2 separate regions of the Homo sapiens genome follow, and region 2 is linked to region 1. Evidence: promoter capture Hi-C in human tissues and cell types (Jung and others, 2019). All regions are on one chromosome and are shown on one strand. The core of a region is centred on a gene start or on the middle of the fragment in contact, and the rest is flanking DNA. Distances in the headings are between cores, read along the strand shown. Region 1 holds the start of CRLF1 (cytokine receptor like factor 1). Region 2 overlaps CRTC1 (CREB regulated transcription coactivator 1).

The links. Contacts are between HindIII fragments. The study calls those that stand out against the background at their distance.
Region 2: a contact is called between a fragment that was not itself captured here and the fragment with the promoter of CRLF1 in region 1, in 1 of the 25 tissues and cell types used here (spleen).

What each region holds. Positions count from the first base shown.
Region 1 is chr19:18,602,741-18,609,406 of GRCh38, forward strand. CRLF1 (cytokine receptor like factor 1) reads right to left here and starts at 4,059. Exons shown (of 9, transcript NM_004750.5): 1 at 3,802-4,059. The coding sequence starts at 3,916. RefSeq lists an enhancer at 3,181-4,099. The HindIII fragment of the contact is 9,492 bases long and covers 1,510-6,666 here.
Region 2 is chr19:18,740,986-18,748,637 of GRCh38, forward strand. CRTC1 (CREB regulated transcription coactivator 1) reads left to right here. Exons shown (of 14, transcript NM_015321.3): 2 at 1,925-2,041; 3 at 4,838-4,975; 4 at 6,068-6,129. Among named protein-coding and RNA genes, the nearest start is that of COMP, 46 kb to the right of the region's middle. The HindIII fragment of the contact is 7,147 bases long and covers 144-7,290 here.

The sequences.
Region 1 (6,666 bases), core at 2,809-5,308:
TTGACCTGGACTCGAATGCCCCCAGCCTGACTCAGTGTTCTACTTTTTTTTTTTTTTGAGACAGAGTCTCACTCTGTCACCCAGGCTGGAGTGCAGTGGCACAATCTCGGCTCACCATAACCTCCACACCCAGCTAATTTTTGTATTTTTAGGAGAGACGGAGTTTCGCCATGTTGGCCAGGCTGGTCTCGAACTCTTGACCTCCAGTGATCCACCCGCCTTGGCCTCCCAAAGTGCTGGGATGACAGGCGTGAGCCACTGCACCCGGCCTCAGTGTTTTACTTCTTTGAGCCTCTGGAAAGGGGCTTCTCGTTCCACACAGAGTGGTTGTAAAGACTCATCCACGCCTTTGTTCGTTCACGCGTTCATCTATTCATTCACAGGGTACCTATAGTGTGTCCGGATCTGTGGGCACTGGGGTGATGCCCAAGACACACAAAAGTCCTGCCCTTGTGGGCATCAAATCCAAGGAAGCAGCAGGAAAAAGGAATAAATAAATATCTAAGACAATAACTAGGGGAGAAAGTAAAGCAGGGGCTGGAGGAAGACAGAGCAGCGGCAGAAGCTTGGGAGGCCTGTCTGGGGAGGTGACCTTTGAGCAGAGACCTGAATAAAGTAAGAGAAGTAGCTGTGACATTATCTAACAGAGCATGTCCAGGCAGTGGGAGCTGCAAGTGCCAAGGTCCTGGGGCAGAAGCGGTGGGAAATGAGGTTTGAGAGGTCAGAGACCCTGACCTGCAGGGAGGAGGGATTCCAGGGTTCTCAGCCGGGGAGGGAGGGATGCGGTGAGATATGCGTTAAAAGGACTCCCCAGGCGGCTGGAAGAAGGGACTGCAGGAGGCAGGGGCAGCCCAGCTTCGCAGAGATGGCAGCCAAGGACAGGGTGATCCTGGCCCCCAGGGAGGCCCCCTGAATGCCAGCGCTGCCCTGCACTTGCCCTCACTGCCCCAGATGGGCGAGGTGGGGTGGACACGGTTCTTGGGCCGGCCCTGATGATTTTCCGGGGCAAACTTGGCTCGAGGGCTCTGTCTCGCTGGAGCCTGGAATCGCAGTTGCGCTTGGGGCTTGGCCCAGGGCTCGCCGGAGGTCTCCGCGTCCGTGCGAAGGAGCCGGCTGAGCGGGCCAGAGCCGAGGAGGCGGGGGCGGCCGAGGGGGGCGGGGGGCTGGGGGCCAGGGGACCGCCCTGGAGGTCCCAGGCAGCCAGCCGCCCGCTAATTCGGAATTCCTTTTGCATGAACTCGGGTGTGCCAGCGTCTCTGCCCCGGCCCACCCACCGCTTCCTGCCTGGGCCCCCCCAACAGAGTGGGAGGCACGGCCAGGCCTGCCCAGACCCCAGGCCCCTCTCAGCCCTTCTAGAGTGGGTCTCACTCCTCCTGCCCCCACCACCCGCCAGCTTGGCCTGGGCAGGAAGGGGCTCTCTGGGGGGTCCTGGCTGGGGGGCGCTGCCCCTCTGCCACACCCGCCTGGCCTGGGCCGGCGTGGCTCACTTGCCAGCAGCTGCAGCTGCCCTCCCGGGGCTGGGCGGGGGACACCGGGCGGCGACGGGTTGTAGGGGGAAGGCAAGGCCAGGCGGGCCTGGACAGACCAATCTCCCACCCCCTTAGCCCCAGCCGGTAAGGTCAGAAGGACACTTTCTCCTCCCGGGATATGGGCGCAACACCAGTGGGAGAACCTGGCCAATTGACTTCCCCTCTCCAGTTCTCAATTTTCTCCTCCATAAAATGGGAGGAGAAATACGTTCTACTTGCTGGGGAGATCAATGAGATGTGATTGCAATCCAATGTCCAGAGGGCTCAGAAGCCTGAAGCCCCCAGGAGCTGCAAAGATGACAGCCCCTCCCAGCTCTGGGGTCCCGGCTGACTAGGCACTCCCTCCAGGCCTCCACAAACAATGGGCTAAGGCGCTGGGGACAGAGATGCACGCACTCCAGGCCAGGCAGGGGAGCAGCTGGGAACAGCCCACTGAGCCGGAGTTGGTGGGGGCTTGGCTTGGTTTGGAGGGCCTCCTAGGGCTCCCCAAAGCAGATCCCTAGGTTGGGCTTTTGAACAGCTCCCTTTTCACTCCCTGCCTCCCCTCCTTTCCCGCAGAGCTGGGGCCTTTAAAAGTTTTTTCTCTCCTCTTTTCCCAATCTGGAGCCACTGCCGTTATTAAAAAGGAACACCATGTGTTTTAAAAGGGAAAAGTGTGAGATTCTCTGCAAGCAGGGCGGAAGGGTGGCCTCCATCCCAGGGTCCCCACGGGGGTCCCCATCTCCCGTCCCGCTGGTACCTGCAGACACTTTACGACCCACCCGCCTGCTGGTCAGGTGCTAAGACACACCGTAAGTAGAAACATATTGCCGAGGTGTGAGAATCTTTTATTTAATTTCTTCCCCCCTTAAAGGAAAAAACACACTTACAGTGCCCCCCCACCCCCTACACCTTCGCCTGCTGCTCTACTGGCTGAAAACAAAGCTTGGCGCTCACAGTGGCACTCACAGGCGCTGCCCACCGCCTGGCAGAGCCGTCAGGGGCCCTGGGAGGGCCCGAGGTAGCCCCTCACCTGAAAGCCAGGGGAGAGCCAGGCTTTCAGCAAGTGCCCCTAGAAGATGCCCGGACCCTGCCCCTTCCCGGAGGAGCCCTACAGGCAGCCCGCAAACAGCCCAGCACAGGGTGGATGAGCCTGGGAGCAGTGTGTGCCCGGCGACCCCCGGGGTGGCCCGTGCGCCTGGATGGGGTGCGTGGAGTGACTGAACATCTGGGGCGAGTGGTGCCTGCCTCTGTGCCCCTGGGTCGCCTCCCCTGTGGGATGTGTGTGACCGTGAATGTGTGTGTCGGGGATGGAATGTGTGTGCGTCCGCGATGGTGCGCGAATGTGCACCTGGGATGCAGTGTGCGCGAGTTTGAGGGCGAGGGTGACGGGCCACAAGCCAGTGTGATTCTTTGTGTGTCTCTGGGTGTGTCCCAGAGCGGGTCTGCATACGGAGACGTATCCTTGCGGGGGTGTTCCTTGGATGGGGGGCCCCAGAGTGCCTGAGGCCAGAAGTCCCTCCAGGGCAGGGGTCTTGGCCCGTAGGGCAGCGGGTTCCCAGTGGGCCCCCTCAAAGTTTGGGCCCGCTGGTGCCCGGACTCACTGGCTCCCGCTCCCTCTCCCTCTCACCCACTCGCTCACAAAGATTCCTCTCGCTGGAGGCTCTCCGCCCGACGCAGCCTGGCTGAAAACGGTTCTAAGCGCCGCCGGTGGCGGGGACTCCGCGGACCCCCGTGCGCCGGGTCCCGCAGGGGGAGGGCGGTGGCGCCGGCCCGTGGAGACACAAGTCCCCCGGGACCCCGGGCTGCGCGCCAGGCGGCCAGAGCGGCCCCCCTGCAGCCCCGCCCTCCCCGTGGGGCTCATCCCTCCGCCTGGGGGGGCCCGCTGGGGGCCCGCACCCAGCGCGCCAACCGCGTGCGCCCCCGCCTGGGAGCGGTGCCCTGCAGTCCCAGGGGCCCAGAGTCCACCGAAGCAGACGCGTGCGCCCGCCACGTCCTGGCATGCAGAGGGTCTCAGGCCGCGATCCCCCCAGCCCCCGGGGGCCTGGCCTGGCGCCCTCGGCCCAGCTGCCCAGGTAACAGGGCCTCGGGCGCGGAAGCAGGACTCTCTGGACAGTGGACTGCGGCGCCGTGTGCCCCGCAGGTGAGGGCGCCCCGAGGGCTGCGCCGGGGGCGCCTTCCTTTGTTCCCCGGCCGTCCAGGTGGCGCCCGCGCCCCCTCCCCCCGCGGCTGCCCCCGGGGCGCCCGCCCTCTGCTCTGGCAGGGGGGAAGGAGTGGGGCGCCGGGTACTCACGGGCTCCTGATCCGGCTCGCGGCGCCCCGAGGACGCAGAGCAGCAGCAGCAGGGGCAGCAACGGCGGCGGCCGCCGCGCGGATTGGGCGGCGGGGCCCCGGCGGCCGGCGGGCATGGGGCCGGCGCTGCCGGGGGCGCGCGGCGGGCTGCGGCTCGGCGGCGGTGGCGCAGGGCGCGGGACGCAGGCCGGGCGCGGGAGGGCGCGGGCCAGGCCGCCCGCACGTCGCTGGGCGCGGACGCGGAGGCCGGAGCAAGTCTGAGCAGCCGAATTGACAAGGCGCTAATGCGCCGCTGGCCCCGCCCGGCCCCGCCCCCGGCCCGGCCCGGCCCCGGGGGGGCGGCGGGCCCCGCACCGGCCTCCCCGCCGCCCGCCCGCCCGCGGGCACCGCGCGCCCCGCCCGTCCCGCCTCCGCCCCACCGAGAACCGCGCGCGCCCTATCCCGCGGCCCAAAGCCCCCTAACTCAACCCCTACCGGCCCAGGACCTCCCTCTCCAACCCTGCCAGCTCCAGGCTTCCCACCCCCAGTCTGGGACCCGGCACCCCCAATCCCGTTTCCATAACCCTGCCCACTTCCCTGCACCCTCCTCTCAGCCCAGTGCCTCTTCAGTGGCCCCTTTGGTCCCCAACCCTGCCCCACTCCTCCATTCCCCCTTCCACGGCCCAATCTTCTGTCTCGGCCCCCACCCCAGCTCTGGCCCCGCCCCCCCCACCGAGCGGTCCTTGAGTCCCGCCTACCCCCATCTCCAGCCCCTCAGCCTTCCCAGGGGCCTAAAAGTCACCCCCAGCCCCACGCCCTCGGCGCGCGGGTTCCAGCCCTCCCACCTCATCCTGCCTCTTTTCGATTCTCCGCGAGTAGCCTCGGCCCCAGGCTTTGCTGGAAGAAAGGAGAAAAAGCAGGAAGGCACGGAGTCCCTCGCCTTCGCCCTGGCTGCGCTGTCCCCTTCGCGCGCGGGATGGGTTTGAGGTTGCTCTGGGCGCCCCGGGGGCCTCGGGAGGGAGCTCCTGCGTGGGCAGACGGGGAGATGTAGTCCCCTGTGGGAGCCGGGACCCAGGCCTGCGCGGGAACTGGGTCCCGCACCGCAGTAAGAGGGATTCCCAGGAGGAGAGCGGTAAGAAGCTCTTTCCCCGGGACCTATTCACACCCCGCCACGGAAAAATCCACTCAGCGGCCCGCGGGTGGGGTGCGCCACGCGGTGAGTAATCGCTTCGGCGGCCACCGCCCGCCGACTCCAGGTAACGCCGGCTGCCCGGAGCGACGCATAGTTTGTCTTCCTTCTTTTGCGCAAAGAGCCTTCTCCGTGTTATTATTTTTGGCCATTGCTCGAGTTTCGGGACCCCTCCCGGTCCGGGCGTCTCATCTCCCTCCTCCCGGTCCCCACCCGATGCGGGCGCCCAGGAATAAAGGGTTCCTGGCCTCCAAGGCTGCTGCGGATGGGGGTGCCTGAAATGAGAGTTGGGGGGTGCAATTACCCACTTTTGGTCGCAGCCCCGCCCCCAGCTGCAGCGCCCAGGGAAGGGAACGGCTCCAAGTCCCCTTTTCCAGGAGTCCCTTAGAGGCCTGGATTCTCTCTCCTGGTCCCCAACCAGCCAAGGGGGTAAAAGTGTCTGAGGGGGGCTCAGGAGCCCCCATTTGTCTGCCCAAGACTGAAGCCCCACCCTCTCCTACTTAAATCTCCAGTTCAGACTCCAGACTGTCAAAAAACAAGATTGGGGGATGGGAGCCTATAGGGGCCCAGGGCGCCCCTGCTCCATCTGAATTCTGGATGGAGAAGACAGACAAGGAGAGACGCTGCCATTTACTTCGGGAAACCAGGCCTTTTGTGCCTCAGTTTCTTCCTCTGCACAGTGGGCACCACCCAGTCTAGGAGCTTCTGTGGGAAGACGCAGGGCAGCAGAAGTCTCTACAATCCAAGCCCTTAGCACAGCACTGGAGGATATCCTGGAGCAGAGGTGACCCCCAGCCCTGCTTGTCCCCTCTGAAACATGGAGCCATAGTCCCACCTGCCAGGGGACCCAGAGGGTTAAGTGGAGGTGGCAGTCCTTGGCTGGAATTGAGTTTTTAGGATACTCACCACTACTCCCCCATGGCTCCTGTCTGCAGATGCTCTCTGTGTGGATAGAGACGCCTCACTCCCTCCTGGGAGGACTTCAGGCTTCTGGAGCAAAACCTTGATTTTTTCCTCCCTCCATTTCTGCTTCTCTTCCAGTCATTTTGGTTTTGGGAAAGGGCTCTCCCATCCATCCAGGTGCTCAGGCCAGAGACCTGGAAGCGCACGTGACAACTCTCTCCTTTGCTCATCCCTCATGTCCAATTCATCAGCAAATCCTGTTGGCTCTGATTCTAAAACACATCTCCATTCTGAGATGCTGACCCCTTTTTCCCACCCCATTCAGATCCAGGCCCCACGGTCTCCCTCAGGGATGCTTCCCGGCCTCCTCCAGGGCCTCCCTGATAACCCTTCTGCCTTTCTCGGCACACCAGGCAGAGGGAGCTTTTAAAAGAAGAAAAAGCAGATCTTTGTCCTGCCACCCTCTCGCCATCCTCTCCCCTCCTCTTCTTCCCTCTCCTCTTCCCCCTCCTCTCCCTCATTCCGCCCCAGCCACTGGAGCCCTGTTTCCCAAAACATACCAGGCTTGTTACTATAGAAGGGCCTCTGCGTGTTGGCTGTTCCCTCTGCTGGAATGCTGTTCCCCACATCTTCCCCAGTTGGCCCTTTCTCTTCCATCACTTCACAGGATTAGTGCCACCTCCTCAGAGAGGCCCTCCACCCTTCCCCCAGCACTCTCCCTCTCCTTCACTTTGTTTTATTGTTTTTGAAACACAACTCTTCCAACCATTTCATTTCTTGTGCAACTGATTTTCT
Region 2 (7,652 bases), core at 2,467-4,966, 140 kb after region 1:
CAGAGCGAGACTCCATCTCAAAAAAACAAACAAACAACAACAACAACAAAAAAGAAAAGCAGAGTCCCCACTCAGTGTCCACTCCTGGCCCAGGGGCTGTGCTCCGAAGCCTGAGTGCCTCCAGCAAAGTGGACAGGAGCTGGGAATTGTGGGCAAGGTTTGGACAGAGATGGGGCTTGGGAACCATGAGAGTTCTGTGTGTCCCCAGTCCTGTAGATTGTCCCCGCATCCCAGGTTTCCTGTGGCCCGGGGACATAGTGTAAACAAAGCTGCTTCAGGGAGTTCTTGCCCCTGATGTCTGGCCTCCTGGGAGCTGGCAGCTCAGCCCGTGTAGAAAGCACATGTGGCATGAGTACCTGCTGTGTCACACGTCGTGTGTCCCTCTCACACCCGCCTGTAGCACTCACTCTAGGTCGGGGACACAGGTCCAGGAGGGGTCACAGCCTTTAGGGCCATATAGTCAGTGAGAGGTGAATGTAGCACAGGTTTCTGTCATGCTACTTGGACACAGAAGAGGGTGGAGAAAGTCACGGGAGGCCACAGGCGACCTATGCCCAGGTAGGTGTGGGGTGGGAGCTGTAGGACCCCCACCCTACACCCCCTCCCTCTGCCACAGCCCGGAGCTGGCCTGTTTCATCTGGTGTGACTGCTGGGAGGGACACTGTGGATGTTCATTGTGTATGTGTCTGGCCAGCGGCCACCAAGGGCTCCCAGCACAGACCCTGGGCCTCACCCCCAGGCCCTCGAGAGCCACCCAATAACACACAAGGTTAATCTTACCATCGGCTCCACTTCAGCTCACAGGAAACAGCTGTTTACCTGGGCGAGGTGCTCAGCCGGGCAGGTGGCCAGTTCCCGGGCTTTACTTCCGCCTCCGGTGTCCAGGGCCCCCTAGGAAGCTGGGGCGGTGGGGCAGCCAGCTCTCCACGCACTGCCAGGAGCTGTTTGTAAGGAACGAGTCGGCCTTGTTGTGTACACAGTGTCCACCCTAGCAACCGCCCCTGCCGGGCCAGAGTGGACAACCACCCCTCCTTCCTGCCTGCCCAGCCCCACCTCTCCTCACGGTGGCTGCCTCCCCCAGTTGCATGGCAGGCATCATGGACCAGCATCCCCAAGGGCCTCGGGTCGTGCCACATGGGTCAGGGGCCTCTGTTACTGGCAAATCAGCATCAGCCACATGAAGGGGAGGAGGCCAGCTTCCAGCCCTGTTCAGAGTCAGCGTGACCCATCAGGGAGCTCCTGGCCCCTGGTTCTGTGCCCCGATGCCATCAGGGAGTGGGAAGCAGGGATGCAGCTGAGATGAAGGCGCTCAGCTGGGCCCAGCCCCCAAGAGGCTGGGAAGGACCATGAGGAAGGAACATGGGGCTCAGGACCCTCTAGAACTCAAGCTGGGTCTGGGGGACTGACTTGGCTGCCCTGGCTCTGTGTGGGCTGCCGTCGGGATCACAAGTCCCACGCTTTGAAGGCCATCACCACGCTTCTGAGACAGCTTCCTCCGATTCAGGCCAGTGGGAAGCCGCCTGGCCTGCCAAGTCACAGCCTCTGGCCGTGATAAGAAATGGCTCCCCTGGGCTGGTGAGGGGCCTCCTTGGCAGGCTGCAGGCCCGCCAGTGCCTCTCTTGCCCATTCACTGACTGACCGAATCAGCAGCAAGGCAGCCAGCTCCCCAGGTTCACGGTCATGGGTTTCTGCATGGTGCATTGCCCCGCCTGGGGAGCCGTCCCGGCACCTCGGGTTTCTGATTCTGCCATTTTTGGTGGAGGGACACCTGGTTTCCTTAAGCATCTGGGTCATGAGGTCCTGCAAACTTCTGCACTTAGGCTGTCAATCCCACCACTTGGGTCTTTTTGTGCCTTTGGGGCTGGCACTCTGAGGTGAGCCTGGGAGGTGACCCCTCCCGCAGCTGCTGGCTTCTCTCTCGCAGCTCCAGCTCCAGAAATCCCAGTACCTGCAACTGGGCCCCAGCCGAGGCCAGTACTATGGCGGGTCCCTGCCCAACGTGAACCAGATCGGGAGTGGCACCATGGACCTGCCCTTCCAGGTGAGTGCCCCGCCCCCTGGCCCTGCCCCATTGTGGGGAGCTTCCCCCAGCCTCCCACTGGGGGCCAGACATTGAGGACAGCTGGGGTTATCAGACAGTTGGCGGAGCCCACCCAACCACTGCCTTCTCCTTGTCTGCCCTGGGAACCAGAGGAAGCAGAGTGGCCCCACCAGGGTGCCCCCGCAGCCCATTCCCCATCAGCAGACCCCGAGGCGAGCCCTCCATCTGGCCTCCAGCATTTCGGCAGCCGCTACACCTGTTGGCCGGCTGTGCGGCAGCGGGAACCGCTCGGGGCCACTGGGGCTTGGCTCTGTCCTGCCTCACTAATCCGCAAGCCCAGCAATTCTCAGAAGGAGGCCCGGCGGCCTGACCCCACTTGTCTGCAAACGTTTCTTGGCAGAGGCCCACACAGCGCGGCTCCCGCAGGCCGCACAGCCGCCGTGCACAGCCTTATCGTAAACAGGAGATAAGGCCCACAGCGGCCCTCTTCCCTGTCCCTGGTCTGCGGGTGGAGATGGGGATGGGGTGGGGCCGAGGGAGCTGGCCTATGAATCAGGGCCACCCCCAGGACGGTGTCTGGGCTCTGCATGGACAGGTCCCCCTGGGGGGGGGTCACACCTACTCTGTGGCTGAGAAAACCACCTCGGACACAGCCATGGCCACTGACAGGCCAGATGGAGCCGGGGCCCCTCCCAAGTCACCCACCAGCTCCACCGCCACCTGCACCGCCGCTGGACAGGGCAGGGATCCTTGGGCTGGCCACCACGGTGCGCCTCCTCCGGCATACAGAGTGCGGGCCATCACTGATGCTGGGCGTGTTCTTTGTCACAGCCCTTCCTGGCCAGGTTTTCTCCCCTCCTGCCCTTCTCTCCCTTTCCTGTTTCTCCTGTCCCCTCTTCCCTGGAGGAGAGTCTCTCTCTGGGCACCTTGCAAGCTCAGCCTGAGTGGGGCTGAGGGGCACAGGACCCTGTTGGGTGTCTGTCGCCCGAGGCCCACAGCCCGGGGGGAGGTCCCACGCATCCCGCCTTTGGGGCCAGGCAAGGCAGCAGCGTCTCAAAGTCTCGGTTCTTTGCATTTTCAGCCCAGCGGATTTCTGGGGGAGGCCCTGGCAGCGGCTCCTGTCTCTCTGGTAAATGAGCCCCCAGGCTGAGGCCGCGGCGTCCCCGGCGCCAGCCTGCAAGACCCCGACCCGTGTGCGGGCGCTGGGGATCCCTGAGCTCCCCAAGCGGCCGCCCCTGCGGCTCCCAGGGAGGTGGAGGTGTCCCGTCCGCCAAATGGAAATGGATCCACTCCGCACCCCCATCTCGGGAAGTGCGTATGGTCGCGTCGAGAGGCCCTGGGGACTCTTGGGGTCCATCTGGGGCAGATGCCATAGCCGCGCATCCCCATCTGGGGTCCAGCAGAGCAGAATCCCAGCATGTGCCCCAAAGCTGCATGGTCCGTCCCTATATACACACACACACAAACACACACACACACACACACATACACACACGTGTGCACGCATCTCCCAAACCAGGCCAGCAGGCAGGACGTGGCGAGCCCGGGTGTGGCCAGCCCCCGCTTCATTCTGCCTCTGACTTGGCTTTGGCTGCCTCAGTTTCCCTCTGGGCTTCAAGGCATCTCTGGAAGGAGATGAATTGCCCCTACCCTGAGGAGCCTGTGCACTGGACAGCACAGTTCCCACCCTCATCGTCACAGGCCCACGTCTCCCATGCCCACAGCCTTTTGGGGGCAAGAGCCACGGAAAGACCCAAACCAGCAGAGTTCATGCTGGATCGAAGAAAGACTTGGGGGTCCCCAGGGCTGGGGACAGTAGTCAGCCCTGAACTCTGGCCGAGGCTGGGACAAAGCAGCAATCCTAGCCATGGACAGGCTTCTGGAGAGGAGACTCACTTTAGTATCAGAGTCTCATTTTGCCCGGCTGCCCAGAGAAGGCATAAGGGCTCAGGGGCCAGATGGCCGGACTGGGGGATTGGCTGCATCCAAAGCTGGCAGAGCCTGCTGATCTCACCCCAGTCAGATGGCAAGTGGGCAACACAGGGTCAGGGCGGGCTCCTGGCAGCCCCGGGGGCATGAGGCCGGGCATGTAGCAGGGCCTGGGGAGGGCCAGCCTGGTGCCAGCCCCAGGTGCTGGGAGGAAGCCCCATCCAGCCAAGCAGTGGGCCATGGCTCCGGAAGGCGCCTGTACTTGGCTCTGGTGGTGCCTGGAGTGCCTGGAGGAGGCTGCGGGGGAGGGTGTGTGGGGGCCGCGTCTCAATCAAGAGCAGCCCTGGGCTCCACAAGGAAGCCTCCCAGGAACTCGCGCTTGGCCAGGTGGGCCCCGAAACAGTCCTGGGCTGGAAGCCCCTGGGCTGTCTCTTGGCAGGCCCCTCCAGGGATGACGTAGGTGGGGGTAGGAGGCCGTCCAGGCCCGGAGAGAGAGGGCGGAGGCCTGTCTGCACCTGGTGAGACTGGGGAGGAGGGCTGCCTAGGCCGGCTACATCCCTGGCACCCGGCGGGCGCTGGCCCCGAGCTTGTGCCGCTCTGCCTGGCCTGTGCATGCCAGCTGCACTGCACGCCCCTGCCACCCTGGCTCCCGGGACCCCAGCTCACACCCCCTCCCTACCCCCCAGTGCTTGGAGAGCCAGGGAGCTGGGGCTGAAGGAAGAAGCCCATCCCAGGCTGTGGAGCGATGGCCGAGGGTGCTCCAGAGTGGGGGGCCCTGCGATCAGACTCTGGGGCCAGCGCTGGGGCCACAGCTGGTAACCATTGTTTGGATTTCTCTCTCTCTGTTTCCATCTCCTCCTCCCCCAGACCCCCTTCCAATCCTCGGGCCTGGACACCAGCCGGACCACCCGGCACCATGGGCTGGTGGACAGGGTGTACCGGGAGCGTGGCCGGCTCGGCTCCCCACACCGCCGGCCCCTGTCAGTGGACAAACACGGACGGCAGATATCCTTTTCACCAGAGGATGAGGGTGGGGGCCAGGCCCTGTCGGTGCCGGCAGGACCCCAAGTTTACCCAGCAGGTTCTGACAGGGCTGCCTGCTTCCAGCTCTGGGGACAGAATCAGGGCAGCACCATCTGGGAGGCTTGATCTCAGGGCAGCCTGGGGGACTTCCTGGAGGAGGCTGTGCCACAAGCCCTGGAGCCTTTGGCCAGACTTGGGGGCTCAAGGGGCACAGGGAACAGCTCTCAAGGCAGGAGTTGAGGAAGGTTATACCTGACCACAGAGGGCTTAGACACCTGGCAGGGCAGTGGGGCCAGGAAGGCCGTGAGCAGGGAGCCCACAGTCAGGGCTGTGAGCTGATGAGGCCTCTCCTACGCGCTGCACGGAGGGCAGCCCAGCCAAGGCAATGGGGCTAAGGGGGTCTGTGTGAGACCCGGACGCATCCAAGGGAGGCTCCATCTCTGTAAGACAGGAGTAAAATTCGCCTCTGCGACTCGGTCACGCAGAGATCAGCCAGAGTCCCCCCCTCCCCCCCAACTCAGCCGCCCCTTGGTGCTCAGCCAGCCGGGCCCCACAACACCAGAGTCTGAGCGGCCTCAGGTTGCTCCCGGGATCCCCCGGCTCTCCAGAACAGAGAAGCTTGTTCTCCGGTTCTCATTTCCGTGGGCTGGGGGAGCTTGACCAGCTGGGCCCCAGACTGAGCCCTTGGGCCCCAGGAGCCACCCCGTCAGCCCAGGATGGAGAGTCCAGACCAGGGTCAGCTGAACTCAGACTCCACAGCGTCCCCACAGGCCCTACTTTCACAGCCCAGAACCCCCTCCCTTGGAAGGGGTGCAGCCCGCACGTGTGCTCACGGAGCAGAGTGCTGAGTGCTAGGTGGACAGGGCTGTACCCCTGGAGAGCCCCTGGAACGGGGGCTGCTTGTAGCCAGGCAGGAAAGGCCGGCAGGAAACGCCCCCCGCCCTACTGGTCCCAGCTGTTTGCAGGCCTCAGGCCGACCCCAGCCAGCCAGCCGGGGCTTCCTGCCCTGGGCTGAGAGTGTGTTGTTGGAGGCGGGGTCTCAGCCAGTGGCACTGCCCCCTTAACTCACCTCACGCCGACAGCTGCCCCTATGGCACCATGTACCTCTCACCACCCGCGGACACCAGCTGGAGAAGGTCAGTGGCTGGACACCCCCCCCCCGCCCCCTTCTTGTTGGAAACAAAACCAAACTCTCATCATGGTTACATGTGGAAAAGCAGGACACAGTCGCTTAAACAATGACCAAACTAAGATGCATCCAGAAGTTTCTAGAAATTAGCCTTCACCCTGAAACACAGGAGTTCCAGCTTTGGGAGGTCTTCTAACATTTCCCTTCCCCCCACTTATGACAAAAAAAAAGACAAAAACAAAAGTGGGACCAGGAGTGGTGGCTCAGGCCTGTAATCTCAGCACTTTGGGGGGCCGAGGCAGGCGGATCACTTGAGGTCAGGAGTTTGAGACCAGCCTGGCCAACATGGTGAAACCCCGTCTCTACTAAAAATACAAAAATTTGCCAGCATGGTGGCGCATGCCTGTAATCCCCAGCTACTCAGGAGGCTGAGGCGGGATAATTGAACCCGGGAGGCGGAGGTTGCGGTGAGCCAAGATCGAGCCACTGCACTCCAGCCTGGGTGACAGAGTGAGACTCCATCGCAAGAAAAAGAAAGTGGGACGATACCGCATATTCAGCACTGTAGCTTGCTCTTTCCTATTTAATGCTGTATTCAGAGCAGGTACCCATGTTACTCAACAGCCATTAAAAATGTGATGATAAAATTATATTAACACATTTAGGATGGAAGATTAGGAAAAATACAGGCCAGGCACAGTGGCTCACGCCTGTAATCCCAGCACTTTTGGAGACCAACGCAGGCGATCAGTTGAACCCAGGAGTTGAAGACCAGCCTGAACAACATAGAAAGATCCCATCTTTACAAAAAATGAGAGAATTAGCCAGATGTAGTAGTGCACGCCTGTACTCCCAGCTACTCGGGAGGCTGAGGTGGGAGAATTGCTTGAGCCCAGGAGGTCAAGGCTGCAGTGAGCTGTAATCATGCCACTACAGTCCAGCCTGGGCCACAGAGCGAGACCCTGTCTCCAAGGCCTAAAATAACAATAATATAGTTAATATAAAAACATACAATAATATAGATCATGGTTGTACAACAATGTGAATGTACTTAATGTCACAGAACTATACACTCAAAAACAGTTAAAACTATACATATATACACACATATTTACATACATATGTATACAAACGTGTGTGTGTATATAATTTTTTTTCTGAGACATGGTCACACTCTGTTACTGAGGCTGGAGTGCAATGGCGCGATCACAGGTCACTGCAGCCTCGACTTCCCAGACTGAATCGTCCCACCTCTGCTTCCAGCTGATTTTTTTTTTTTTTTTTTTTTTTTTGGAGAGACAAGATCTTGCCACGTTACCCAGGCTGGTCTCAAACTCCTGGGCCCAAGTGATCCACCCATCTCGGCCTCCCAAAGTGCTGGGATTACAGGACATGAGCCACTGTGCCTGGCTGTTATATATATTTTACTACAATAGAAATATATATAACAGGCACAGTGGCTCACACCTGTAATCCCAGCACTTTGGGAGGCCGAGGCGGGTGGATCACTAGAGCTTGGGAGGTTGAGGA